4 separate regions of the Homo sapiens genome follow, and all the other regions are linked to region 4. The links are contacts of gene promoters, found by promoter capture Hi-C in blood cells and fetal thymus (Javierre and others, 2016). All regions are on one chromosome and are shown on one strand. The core of a region is centred on a gene start or on the middle of the fragment in contact, and the rest is flanking DNA. Distances in the headings are between cores, read along the strand shown.

What was found. Contacts are between HindIII fragments. The CHiCAGO score rates a contact against its expected background, and 5 or more counts as called.
Region 1: a fragment that was not itself captured here is called in contact with the fragment with the promoter of GOLT1A in region 4 in 1 of 17 cell types (megakaryocytes); the score reaches 5.5 in megakaryocytes.
Region 2: a fragment that was not itself captured here is called in contact with the fragment with the promoter of GOLT1A in region 4 in 1 of 17 cell types (megakaryocytes); the score reaches 5.3 in megakaryocytes.
Region 3: a fragment that was not itself captured here is called in contact with the fragment with the promoter of GOLT1A in region 4 in 1 of 17 cell types (megakaryocytes); the score reaches 6.3 in megakaryocytes.

The regions. Positions count from the first base shown.
Region 1 is chr1:204,292,087-204,295,038 of GRCh38, forward strand. All of the region lies in intron 1 of PLEKHA6 (pleckstrin homology domain containing A6), which reads right to left. Among named protein-coding and RNA genes, the nearest start is that of PLEKHA6, 66 kb to the right of the region's middle. The HindIII fragment of the contact is 6,726 bases long and covers 1-2,952 here.
Region 2 is chr1:204,314,142-204,317,191 of GRCh38, forward strand. All of the region lies in intron 1 of PLEKHA6 (pleckstrin homology domain containing A6), which reads right to left. Among named protein-coding and RNA genes, the nearest start is that of PLEKHA6, 44 kb to the right of the region's middle. The HindIII fragment of the contact is 446 bases long and covers 1,424-1,869 here.
Region 3 is chr1:204,337,370-204,340,283 of GRCh38, forward strand. The region is part of intron 1 of PLEKHA6 (pleckstrin homology domain containing A6); the gene reads right to left. Among named protein-coding and RNA genes, the nearest start is that of PLEKHA6, 21 kb to the right of the region's middle. RefSeq lists an enhancer at 742-1,525. The HindIII fragment of the contact is 9,408 bases long and covers 1-2,914 here.
Region 4 is chr1:204,212,605-204,215,559 of GRCh38, forward strand. It overlaps GOLT1A (golgi transport 1A), which reads right to left and starts at 1,384. Exons shown (of 5, transcript NM_198447.2): 1 at 1,278-1,384. The coding sequence starts at 1,302. RefSeq lists an enhancer at 1,255-1,911. The HindIII fragment of the contact is 7,307 bases long and covers 1-1,753 here.

The sequences.
Region 1 (2,952 bases), core at 257-2,756, 80 kb after region 4:
TGTGTCCTGAATCCGCCTTTACTCTTCTCATGGATTTAGATCAAATAATGTAGCAGACCTGAATACGGTCTTCATCAAAATAAAGGATTATTTGTTCTATGACAGAAGGGAAAATATCAAATAAAATCCTTTACGGTTCACAAAGCACTGTCATCATTATCTCATTTGGTTCTTTTATGGTCTTATGAGGTGGGCAGAAAAGTGTTAGTACCACCCTCATTTTACAAAACAAAATCCCTGAAGCTGGAAGTGTTGGCTGAGATAACCCACCTCATATACCTGAGGCAAGGCTAACCTCGGGGTCTGTTAACCTCAGTCCGAAGCTCTTTCCTCAGGGCCACAAGGAGCTGCCCCGACCTGGCTGATGCCCACCTATGTCCCTCACCCGGGCACTATGTCCCTCACCCTGGCTGATACCCACCTGTGTCCCTCACCCTGGCTGACGCCCACCTATGTCCCTCACCCTGGCTGATGCCCACCTGTGTCCCTCGCCCTGGCTGATGCCCCCCATTTCCCTCACCCTGGCTGACGCCTACCTGTGTCTCTTGCCCTGGCTTGGTCTTTGTGGTGCTCACCCAGCACTGGGTGGATGCTCCTGGAGCATGCCAGTGGCAGCACCTGAGAGGCTCCTGGGATGGATGGAAACAGGGTCAGGACAGGTCAACTAAGGGGAGCACTGCAAGACAGGGAAGACTGATAGAAATGAGGGATGCAAAGTCTAATTAGATCACACATTTGATGTGAAGAGGGGGAATAAAAAACAACCAAATGCCACTCCCAAGGCGGAAGTCTGGAGGTTGTGGAAGCAGCTGGAAGCTGTTAGTGTTAGAGAGCTCCCGGCCAGACACACGGCTGCGTTCCAGGCCTCTGTACCCCTCCCCTCCCGCCTCTTCTCTGTACCCTAACCTTCCTCCTCCTGGCATGGAGCCCCACCTCTCTCCCCCAACTTGTTCTGAGGGTGGGATGACTGGGAGAGGGAGCAAGCCCACACTGTGGGAGTGGGGGAGGGAGCACAAAGTTTAAGGGGCATCCAAAAACTCAGTAATCAGACTTTTTTTTTTTCTTTGAGATGGAGTCTTGCTCTGTCACCCAGGCTGCAGTGCAGTGGCGCGATCTTGGCTCATTGCAACCTCTGCCTCCCAAGTTCAAGCGATTATCCTGCCTCAGCCTCCCAAGTAGCTGGGACTACAGGCATGTGCCACCACACCCAGTTAATTTTTGTATTTTCAGTAGAGATACGGTTTCACCATGCTGGCCAGGCTGATCTCGAACTCCTGGCCTCAGGTGATCCGCCCGCCTTGGCCTCCCAAAGTGCTGGGATTACAAGCATGAGCCACTGCACCCGGCCAATCAAGACTTATTTTAACGCGATATTTTTGAAATAAAAATTAACATTAAAAACCCATGATGAATGAAATACCAACATTTCAAATAAAGACAGGACCAGTATCACTGGAATTTCCCTTTTGCCTCAGCCTCCAATTTGGCTTAAAGTGGCACTGTTTTAGATCCTGTCTTTATTTCGAATGTTACTATTTTGTTCTTCATGAAATGTTTGCATTGATTTTGATTTTAAAATTATTGCATTGAAATGTTATTTATCTTGACTACCGAGTTTTTTGGCACCCATTTGGCAAAATGTAAGACATTTTGTACCTAAGGGGAGTGTATTAATCGCCTTACTCTAGTCAGCCCTGCTCAGGGATGAGGAAAGACGGGACAAGGCTCAGGAAGTCCCAGAGAGGATCCTGTGCTCTTTAAGAAAACTTCAATGCATGAACATGGAGAAAGGCTGAGGGACTTTCCAGACTGAGAGGAAAGAGACATGATCCTGAATTGGATTCTAATGACATTATTAGGACAACTGGTGAAATTTCAATATGGACTGTATATTAGATAATAGAATTGTATCGATGTTATTAAGTTTCCTGAGTCTGTTAATTGTACTGTGGTTATGCAAGAGAATGTCCTTGTTTTTAAAAGGAAAAAGAGAAGATGAAGAAAGAGTGGCCAGAGCGTGACAGCTGCTTGACAGCTGCATTAAGCCAAACACCCTTCTCTCTCTCCAGCCTGTCTCTCCTCCAATTCCAGGCCATCCCAGGAGGATACGGAGGAAGTGGTGATGGCAGAAAATCTTGTCCAGAAGATAGGGTACTGGAGGGCTGGTTGGACATTTCTTCTTGAAATAAGAATTAACCTTGAATTCCCAAATTACCCTTCACCCTCCCAGGAAAACTTGACAACTAGCACAGAAAGAAAAAGGAAATTAACACCTATCCAAGTCATGATGCTAGCGAATTCTCTGCTTAACCCCCAGAGATAGGTATTGCTGTCCTGCTGTTGCGGAGGAAGAACCTGAGAGGTCAGGTTATTAGCCCAAGGCTACACAGTTAGGAAGTGAGAGAACTGGGATTAGAGCCCAGGACACAGCCCAAAGCCAGCTTTCTTCCCACTTTATGTTAGTTGTGCAACTTGAAATTCCCTTCTCATGCATCATCCTACCAGCTAATCCTTTCGTTTATTTTTATTGAGTTGAATCCGCATTAGCCTTGAGATTTTTGGCTCTGGAGTCAGACTGCCCCAGTTCCAATCCCGGCTCCACCAGTTACTACCTAAGGGACTCTGGGTGAGAAACTTAACCTCTCTGTGCTTTCATTCCCCCATCTGTGAAAACGGGATAATATACGGACCTTCTTCATGGGTTCGTCACAGGAGTAAATAAGATTATACCCACAAAAAATTTATGAAAGGTTCTGGCACTTAGTAAATGTTCAATAAATGCTAATAATCATTATTATCTGTCTGCATCTGCCTTGGGCTATTTATCCTTAGGAGACAGTGGCTCAATTTTGATTATAAAACCCCTCACCACTTTGACACCTACAGATGGATGCTTAATAATTTGTTCCTAAAGAAGTTATCCATCAAGATAGTACCCTCTCCCCTGTACTT
Region 2 (3,050 bases), core at 397-2,896, 100 kb after region 4:
GCCATCCTAGCATCTTGAGATCAGGGCACAGGAAGCAAGGTGCCCTCAAACAGATTGATAATAAGATGGCAGAGACAGAGGTGGACAGCATGAGTGGCTCAGCCACTCCCTCAACCTGTGTCTCAGAGTCCTGTTGTCTGAACTGTAGCTCACCTGTTCCTGTTTCACCCTTCAAATGGAATGTTCCACTTCCCCTGTGAGCCCGGGGAGAGAAATAAATTCCCTGTTCTAGAAAAGCTTTCTTCTTTAGAGACTGAAGTCTCTGGAATTTCATCTAATACTCCTGCAGACGACAATGGAGTGACTGGGCCAACAGTAAGTGCAGAGAAGGATCCTGGAACGACAAGACTGATCCTAACTGGCCACCACTCCCCCTGGCCTGGGGATGGTCTAACCAAGGAGACTGGAGGGGAATAGACAGACACCTGCTGCCTCTGTAGCTCCTGGCGGACCTCACTCTCAGGTGTCAGATGAGTATCCCAACCAAGCTGGGGCGAGAAATAGCAGAATCCTCCTTAACTTCTTCTCCTGTGCCCTTCCCTGAGTCAAGCTTGTCTTTCTTCTAGGCCCTTATCTCCCTGCCTCAGAGACCTTTATCCACTTCATCTCTTACCTCCACAATGGCGCAGGGGCGGTAGAGATGCTGGTATGGATGCCCACAAGCTTTTCACAGGGACAGCATGTATGCTGGTATTTGGGGAGTAGGGAATAGTACTCAGGGATGGATCTAGGTCTTCTAATTCCACAGGGGCTTCAGTGACTCCAAATCCAACCCCTAGAGGTATCAATGTAGGCCTCGGTGCCCTCATGTGATCCAGAGCTCTGCCAGCTTGGCTCGGAACGCTGGCACACACTCCTGCACCACACCAAGATATGTGGGTTCACTCTGGCAGAAATGGGAGAATGACAGCCCTGTCCAGCTGTTTTCCAGTTCCTGTGAGACAAACTGGACTTTGATTACAGCAGGAATGGTTTAGGTTAGATAGTAAGAATCACTTGAAATGGGTGATAAGAGGACATTTAGGACTCTGTCCTTGGCCTTTAAAATTAAAGCCAATTTCCCCTCCACTGGCTATGGCTCAATACCTGTTTCATCATGTGACTCTCTTGCTCAGAAATCCTCAGTGGTTACCCCTCCCCTGCCTGCTACATAAGGGTCCACCTCCACGGTTTGGCATCCAAGGCCCACTGCGGCACGTCCCCACTCATCTTTCAAACGTCATATTCTATGGCTCCATGTGTAAGTTTTCTAGTTCAACCTGACTGAACTTTGCAACATTTCCCCGAAAGGCCTTAGGCATTCCTGCTCTGGCAGCGTCATTCCCCTTCCCTCTCCCCCAGATGCCTGTTAAATCCAAATCTCCCAGGGGAAGGCAGGTGGACACCGTGTTAGGGCTGAGCTCAAATGCCACCTCTTCCAGAAAGCTTCAGTTAAACACCCCCAGCCCACAGAAAACCCCCTCCGCCGTGAAGTTGTAGGCATATGTTAGCCAGTCATTCCCTAGAAATGTCCTGAGCATGACAGTGCTAGAGACTGAGCAGAGATGTGGTCCCCACCTTCAAGGAAACCCTAATCTAGAGAGTGGATACAGATAAAAGCAAACCAACAAAACCATCCTCCCGTGACAGGCAGCCTGGGATGAGGGCAGCGTGAGTGGGGAGCCGGGGAGATGCCCAGGGGAGGCCACAGCATGGAGACGACAGCATGAGAGGAGGAGGCTGGGCGTTTTAGAGGGAGTCACATTAAGGAGACGGGAGATTACTGGGGTACCTGGACTAGGTAAAGGTTCGTGTTGGGAAGTAACGATAATTCTATAAACATTTACTGTGTGTTTACTATGGACACTGTGGGAATGCTTCCTATTTATAAGCTTGCTTATTCCTCATAACTAAATGAAGCTGGACGGGTATTTGGGGGCCAGACTGTGGAGTCCCACGATGCATGTAATGCAATGCGCGAGGTGGCTCCCGCTCAATAAATATTTTCTCGTTGATCAATGGATAAATGATCTTTGAAGGCTCACTCCCAGTGGGAGGAAGCTAGAATTTCTCAGGAGCAACTAAAGCTCTGAAAAATATTTTTCTAACTTTTTAAACTATTAAAAGAAACATCGGGACTGACAAGGGGAGGAGAGGCCCTGGTTGGGTAAGAACCTGACTTTCTCGATACAGGATGTGGAGAGTGGGTGTTGGAGCACTCCCTGTGCCCACAAGAAACCCAAGTAGGCTCAGGGAGACAGCTGCCGGGAAAGACAGCTGCAGGCCGCTCAGAATAGGGACACGGGAGAAATGCTTTCAATGGGTGAGTCCAGGGGTACCCAACCCCTTGTTCCCAGTGCCTTTGCAGGATATGTGGGGGTAGGGTTCACTCAGCACCACCCAGAGCTGGCAGAGCCTCCGGAGCTGAGTTTGCCCTGCCTCCCCACTCATTGGCACGGTGACTTGGCTAACTCATTCCAGAGAGATGGAGGTCCTTCTAAAAGGTCACAGTTTCCCTCGGTTTCCCATCTTTTCTGGCCTCCCAGTCTTTGATTTAACTTTTATCTGGCCAACTGGAATTTAAGCCCATTCTCCACTGGAGAGCTCAATACAGGTATCAAACTTACCTATTTGAACCCATTCCCCACTAGGGAAATCAATAAAGATGTCAGCTCATTCCTCTTTCCTTTGGCATCTGCGTTAGGATATCCCAGGGTGGGACTCAATCACCCTACTGGTATTTTACCAGGCGCAACTAGGGCTGAAGAACGGAGAAGCCAAATGATGAACCCCAGACAGATAAAGCGGCCTCCTCGTATCCACTCCTTAAACACCTCCAAGGCCAATCACATAATCTACCGTGCCATCTGCAGCTGAAATAACCAGAACTGGACATCTGGAGGTACCTTCCAGTCTCCTCCAGCCTGGACCAAATCACTGAGCATCTCTCAGCCTCTTTTCCCCACCTGTAGAATGGAATGGAACCTGTGCTCACCAAATTCAGCTCTTCTGAGCATAAAATAACTTGGTAAATATAAAAATGTCTCAGAAAGTTAAACCAAAGAGTTAAG
Region 3 (2,914 bases), core at 11-2,510, 120 kb after region 4:
CCCCTTCCCAGTAGCTGCTACCTTCTTACTAGCCTACATCCTAACTCACCCGGCGAGATGTCACCATTGCAGAATCATTCTGAATGGGGCTCCTACATGCTCTGAGACAGAGCAAGACCAAAAAATGGAAAACAGAACTGAGTAGTGAAGACAACAAGTGAGCATGAGATGAGGAAAAAGAAAGAATTAATGAGCTCTCGTTGGAATTAATTTTAAAGGAGCAAACAAAAGCAATTAATGTGGAAGGGTGGAATCCCTCACCTCAGCTGCTCTAGGAGAAGCCTCCGGGGTGACTGGAGACCTGGCTGTCTGCACTGTGTTAGAAAGAAGATGGCGGTCTCTCACTTGGGGGGGGAATCCAGGGAAAATGACTCACTTGTGCTCCAGTGGAAGGGGAGGAGCAATTGGGAGGCACGTACCACAATAGTCATATGTATGCTGGTGAACAACGCACACACCCAAAGATGAGGAGGGCAAACCCGTCAACTGCGTTGCCAGCCATAAAGCATGCCAGGTGGGTAAAGTGCTTGTCAAAGCCTTGAGAACAAGAAGCCATGGCATGACAGGCAATAGGGAATGAATGCCCACTTGATGCCAAGTGCAGCCCTGGATGGCTTACAGTCTTATTTCTTTTCATCCAAACAACCCTATGAAGTATTCTTCTCTCCATTTACAGATGAGGAAACTGAGGTTCCAAGAGGTTAAGCCTACAGAAGGGAATGTGTGCCTTAAATTCCCGAAGACCTAGATTTGAATTATGGCTCCACGACTTTCTAACTAGGTGACCCAACTATGTCACTGTGCACATGTTACCTAACATTTCCAAACCTCAACTCCATCCTCTATAAAATAGGAATGCTGCTACTTACTTTCCAGCTCTACCAAGGAAGTCCCTTCCCAGTGGCTGCCACATATGTAAAAGAATGTAAAAGAATTCTTTTACATATGTGAAAGAATATATGTAAAGCTCCTAGCCTGCTCTGTTAAATGCACATACAAAGTGTGTGGCAAGTGCTTGTTCTCTTCCCACCATCCCCCGCTCCATTAAGGTCATTAGTTCATAAGAACTCATTAGTTCAACAGGAAGTGCAGTCTCAAATGTGTGAAAAAGGGGAAAGCAGATGGAATTTATGGAAGCCCTTTTCTATGCCAGGAACTTTACTAGGTCTTTAGGGTGGGGTGTTGAGATTAACAAGAAGAACATGACAGAGTCTTTGCCTTCCAAGAGTTTACAACCTAGCAAGCCAAGCCCATAAACAACTGTGAGAAGAGCCATGTGAGACAAAGGCAGATAAAGACAGGGAGACTTGTGGCTCCTGTGGGCAACCAGGGAAGGCTGAGAGATCAGATGACTTCTGAAAACGGGCAGGATTTTGGTAAATGGAAGTAAGACAGGAGCAGACTGCTTCTGTGGAAATGAAGGGGATGGGGAGAGGGACTCTCGCATGGCCTCTCCTAAGGCAGACCCCGGTAGGATGCATAGGCTACTAACCAATACATGCTTTCAGTCTTCAAGAGTGGAAGACCAAAAAGGTCTGCAGATTCTTTGCTGTTCCCTCCCATTGGGAAGTGGAGTCAATTCCCCACCCCGTGCATCCGGGCAGGCTCAGTTGGACCAGCAGCATGTAACGGACATGACTCTGTGTGACTCCTGAGGCTAGGGCATAAGAAGTCTTGCAGTTTCCACTTGGGTCTCCTGGAACGCTCTCTTGAGACATTCTGTCTTAGAACCAACCGCCTCACTGAGGGAAGTCCAAGCCACGTGGAGAGGCCACTTGTGGTGCTCAGGTTGACAGGCCCCGCTGAGCTCCCCGATGACAGCTGGCATCCTTTGCCAGACATGTGAGGAGCCTCCCTGGCAGCCCAGCCAGTCGAGCCTTCAGAGGATGGCCACGGCCGGAAATGACCCAAGCAAGGGCTACCCCTCCCCGAGCCCAGTCAACCTAGAGAACCCTGAGAGACAGGCATCAGCCCTTGTTCTCAGCCACTACATTTTGGGTGGCCTGCTATGCGGCAATACATAACCGGAACACTAAGTCTCCATCTCACCAACCTGGGCTGTTACTAGGGAAATTGGGGCAAGGATCATACTCAAAATGGATGTGAAAAGAGGTGAGAAGAAGAGGAATTGTGTGCTGGGAGAGGGAGAGGAGGGAATCAGTTAAACTTTCCCAGTAGCCTCCAGCTCCCCAAGCCCCTCCATTCTTCCCAACAGGATCCCAGATCAATATAACTTCATAATTCAATGAACCCCCAGGGAAATAACTAGGGGGAAAATCAGTACATGTAAAGACATTTATAGCAGAGCTATTCATAATAGCAACAAATTGGAAACAACCCAAATTCTCAGTAATAAGAGAAAAGCAATCCAGTAATGGAGCAACATGACAGAATTACTTATAGCTATTTAAAATGACAAATTTATAGATCATTATCATACCTGGGAGTGTTTGTATAAAATAATATTAAACAAAAAAGAAATTCATGACACAAGACACTAGCTACACATCAATTACAACTATATAAACACAGGATTACAACTATATAAACTATATTAACTGTATAAACTAATTACAACTATATAAACTATATTAACAAAGATCAGGAGGCACATGGAATAGGCATATCCTTTAACATTTGCTTACCCATTTTTAGGCAAAGTTAATTAAGCATTACTTTTTTAAAAGTACAAGTTAGACCTCACAAATCAAAAAAATGGGGTCATGACCGCATGAGAATTGGAAGGAGACAATATTTTGGAAAATTGGAACATGTTCTGTCACCCAGGACAGGGAAAGGGAAGGGTGGACTGGATGACAGGGATGGAGTGAGTGGGAGGGGGGTGTGTTATTCCCCAGCAGGGTAGCTGAATGTTAGAAAACAAACCCTCTGTGTTTGCTGACACAGTGCAAAG
Region 4 (2,955 bases), core at 134-2,633:
CCAACCTGAGCGACAGAGTGAGACTCTGTCTCAAAAAAAAAAAAAAAAAAAAAGAACTGGCTTCCCTGCTGCTGCCTTCATACCTCCACAGTCTATTCTCAACCCAGCACCCAGAATGATCTTTTAAACATAGAAATAGAACATATCACACCATAGCACAAAACCAAGGTCATTACCATGGTCTATAAGTCTCCAGTGTCCTGACCCCTCAGTGACATCCCTGACCTAAACTCCTATGATTCTCCCCTCACCTCACTTTGCTCCAGGTATACCCACCTCCTTGTTGTTCTTCAAACACACCAAGTATGCTAATGCCTCAGGGCCTTTGCACTGCCTGTCCCTGCTTCCTGAACATTTCCCCTCCAGAGAGCTGCGTGGCTTTGCTTCCTCACTTCCTATAGATCTCTGAAAAAAGATCTGAATAAAGGCTCACCTTCTCAGTGAGGCTTCCCTGACCACTCTATATAAAATAGCGACCCCTCCTACCTCGAACTCCATAGCCTCCTCTTGTTTTATTTTCATCTGGAGGACTTATCATCTTCTGATATACTATATACTTCTTTCTGTTAATTACCTGTCTCCCCTCTCTAGAATGTAAGCAGGGAGTCAGTTTCATTTAATGTTGGACACTCTATATCCAACACAGTGCTTGGCACACAGCAGAGACAAATCTGTTGAGTGAACAAAAGAATGTTGTCACCAATTCTCAGATGAAAAACCAAGGCTCAGAGGCTTTAAGTAACTCACCCAAATGAAGCCCACAGAGCCACGGTTCTTCCCATGGCCCCAGACTTGTTCCAAGACCTCCTCCCTACCTCTTCCCCCAAAAGAAGGGGAAGGATGTTTAGGAGTGAGGGTATGGTGGTTTGGTCAGGGGAGTGGAGTTTAGTTTTTTATAAGAAGCCCCCAGGGCCACAGGAGACCTTGATGGTGTGGGGAAAGATGTCTGAATGGGCAGAGGCCTCCTGAGTCCACCTTTGTGGCAACCCAGTTCTAAGAACCCGGGATGGGAAAGGGGTCAGTGTGAATGGGGAACCTGCCAGGCCCCCTGGGCACCAGCCTCTAGCTACCTGTGGGCCCTGAGCAACTCCCACCCGCTGGAGGGTAGGGAGCCACACCCCACCCTGCCTGCTGCCCCAGGGTGCCAGCACAGCATCTCCCAGCCCCTGGCTCCAGAGGTCACGCTTGTAGTGACAGAGAGCCCAGCTGGGAGAGAGAGCCAGCCGGCAGGGAGCCTGGCCTGGATAGCCCATTGCAGCCCCGCTCATCCCACTTACTCTGCCATTCGGTGATGGAGATCATGCCGCACTCAGCCTGGGGGGCTTTCCGGGTGGAAGCGGGCAAGTGGAGCGTGGCCCAGAGGACGCAGCTGGTACATGGTCACGGGAAGCTGACCCTTGGTTAAGTTGCGAAATGAGCCTGTGGCAAATCATTAACTCTCCCTCCAGCCCCCGCTCCACCCCCGCACACCACGCAGGTGCTTCTACTCGCCAGCTCCCTCCTCCCGTTTTCCGGTAGGGCAATGCCCCGCCCCTCCACCTGCCGCGCCTGCCCGGGGAAGGCACCGCCCACCTGACCCTTTCCTCGCACCTCGCGGTGTTCTGCGGCTCTCGTCTGCTCCGCGAAACTTAGATTGTATGTGGAAGCATTGGAATCTAGGGGGTGCTCAAGTTTCTTGCTTGGTTTGATAGTGTGGGAAGAGTTGGCATCTGCGCATCCCTTTGGGAATGTACTAAATTCATCTTGAAAGTCAAGCTTTTTGCTCTCTGCTATTGCACATGCTAGGCGCTGGGAGGCGATGAGCGACTGAGCACAAAGCCTGTTGTTGACCTAATGGCAGAGCCAGATCGGGTTAAATCAATGGCAAAAGCGCCATGGGGGAAGTTAGACGTGAAGGTCTTCGACCTCCTTTCCCCAAGCGGCGTCCAAGCTTTGGACTGACTGTGATGTTGAGCTATGGAAGACAAAGCCCTGAATTTGGGGTTGGGGCAGGACTGCACAATTTAGGAGGCCTGGTTCTAGTCTACCCACCAGCTGTGTAGACATGGATTCGTCCTTTGGGCCTGCAAAAAGAGAGGCAGTTAGTTCCTAACATCCTTTTTTCCCATCGCAGAGCAGTGGTTCTGACGTGGCATTGATGCCAGGAGAGCCAACATCCACTTTGCAATGTCTTCTGTGTCCAGAAATGAAGAAATGAATTTCAAAGACTACCTATATACATCATTTAAAAATGCAAATAGGCCTGGCATACAAAATGCATTATGTCTGTAATCCCAGCATTTTGGGAGGCCAAGGCAGGAGGATTGCTTGAGCCCAGGAGTTTGAGACCAGCCTGAGCAACATAGTGAGACCTTGTCTCTACAATAATAAAAATAAAAAATTAGCCGGATGTGGTGGTACCTGCCTGTAGTCCCAGCTACTGGGGAGGCTAAGGTAGGAGGATTGCTTGAGCCCAGAAGGTCGAGGCTGCGATGAGCTGTGATCAAGCCATGCACTCCAGCCTGGGTAGCAGAGCGAGATCCTGTCTCAAAAAAAAACAAACCAAACAACAACAACAAAACCAAGGAAAGCTAACATAATTTTTTAAAAAGAAACAAAAAGATAAATTATAATAAAACATGATGTCTTTCAATATATAAATGTTCAGGCAAGACTTACCAGAAGACATAAATGAAATAGGCAGATTGCTTGCACCCACACATAATATATGTTTGAATTTAAGAGAAATAGAAGATGAGCCATTCTATGCAAAAACAAAAATCACACACATGCAAGAAAATGAAAGAGTAGCAGGAAGTGAACATAGAATAAAAACTGTTAGATAAGGAATAACAGACCAGACGTACTTGCATATGATGAGAGGGAAAGCATCTTAATTGAAATAGGGATAACATAGCAAGGCAAATTAGAGAGCACAAGGTGGAGATAATATAGAAGTATGATGTGCATGCAAAG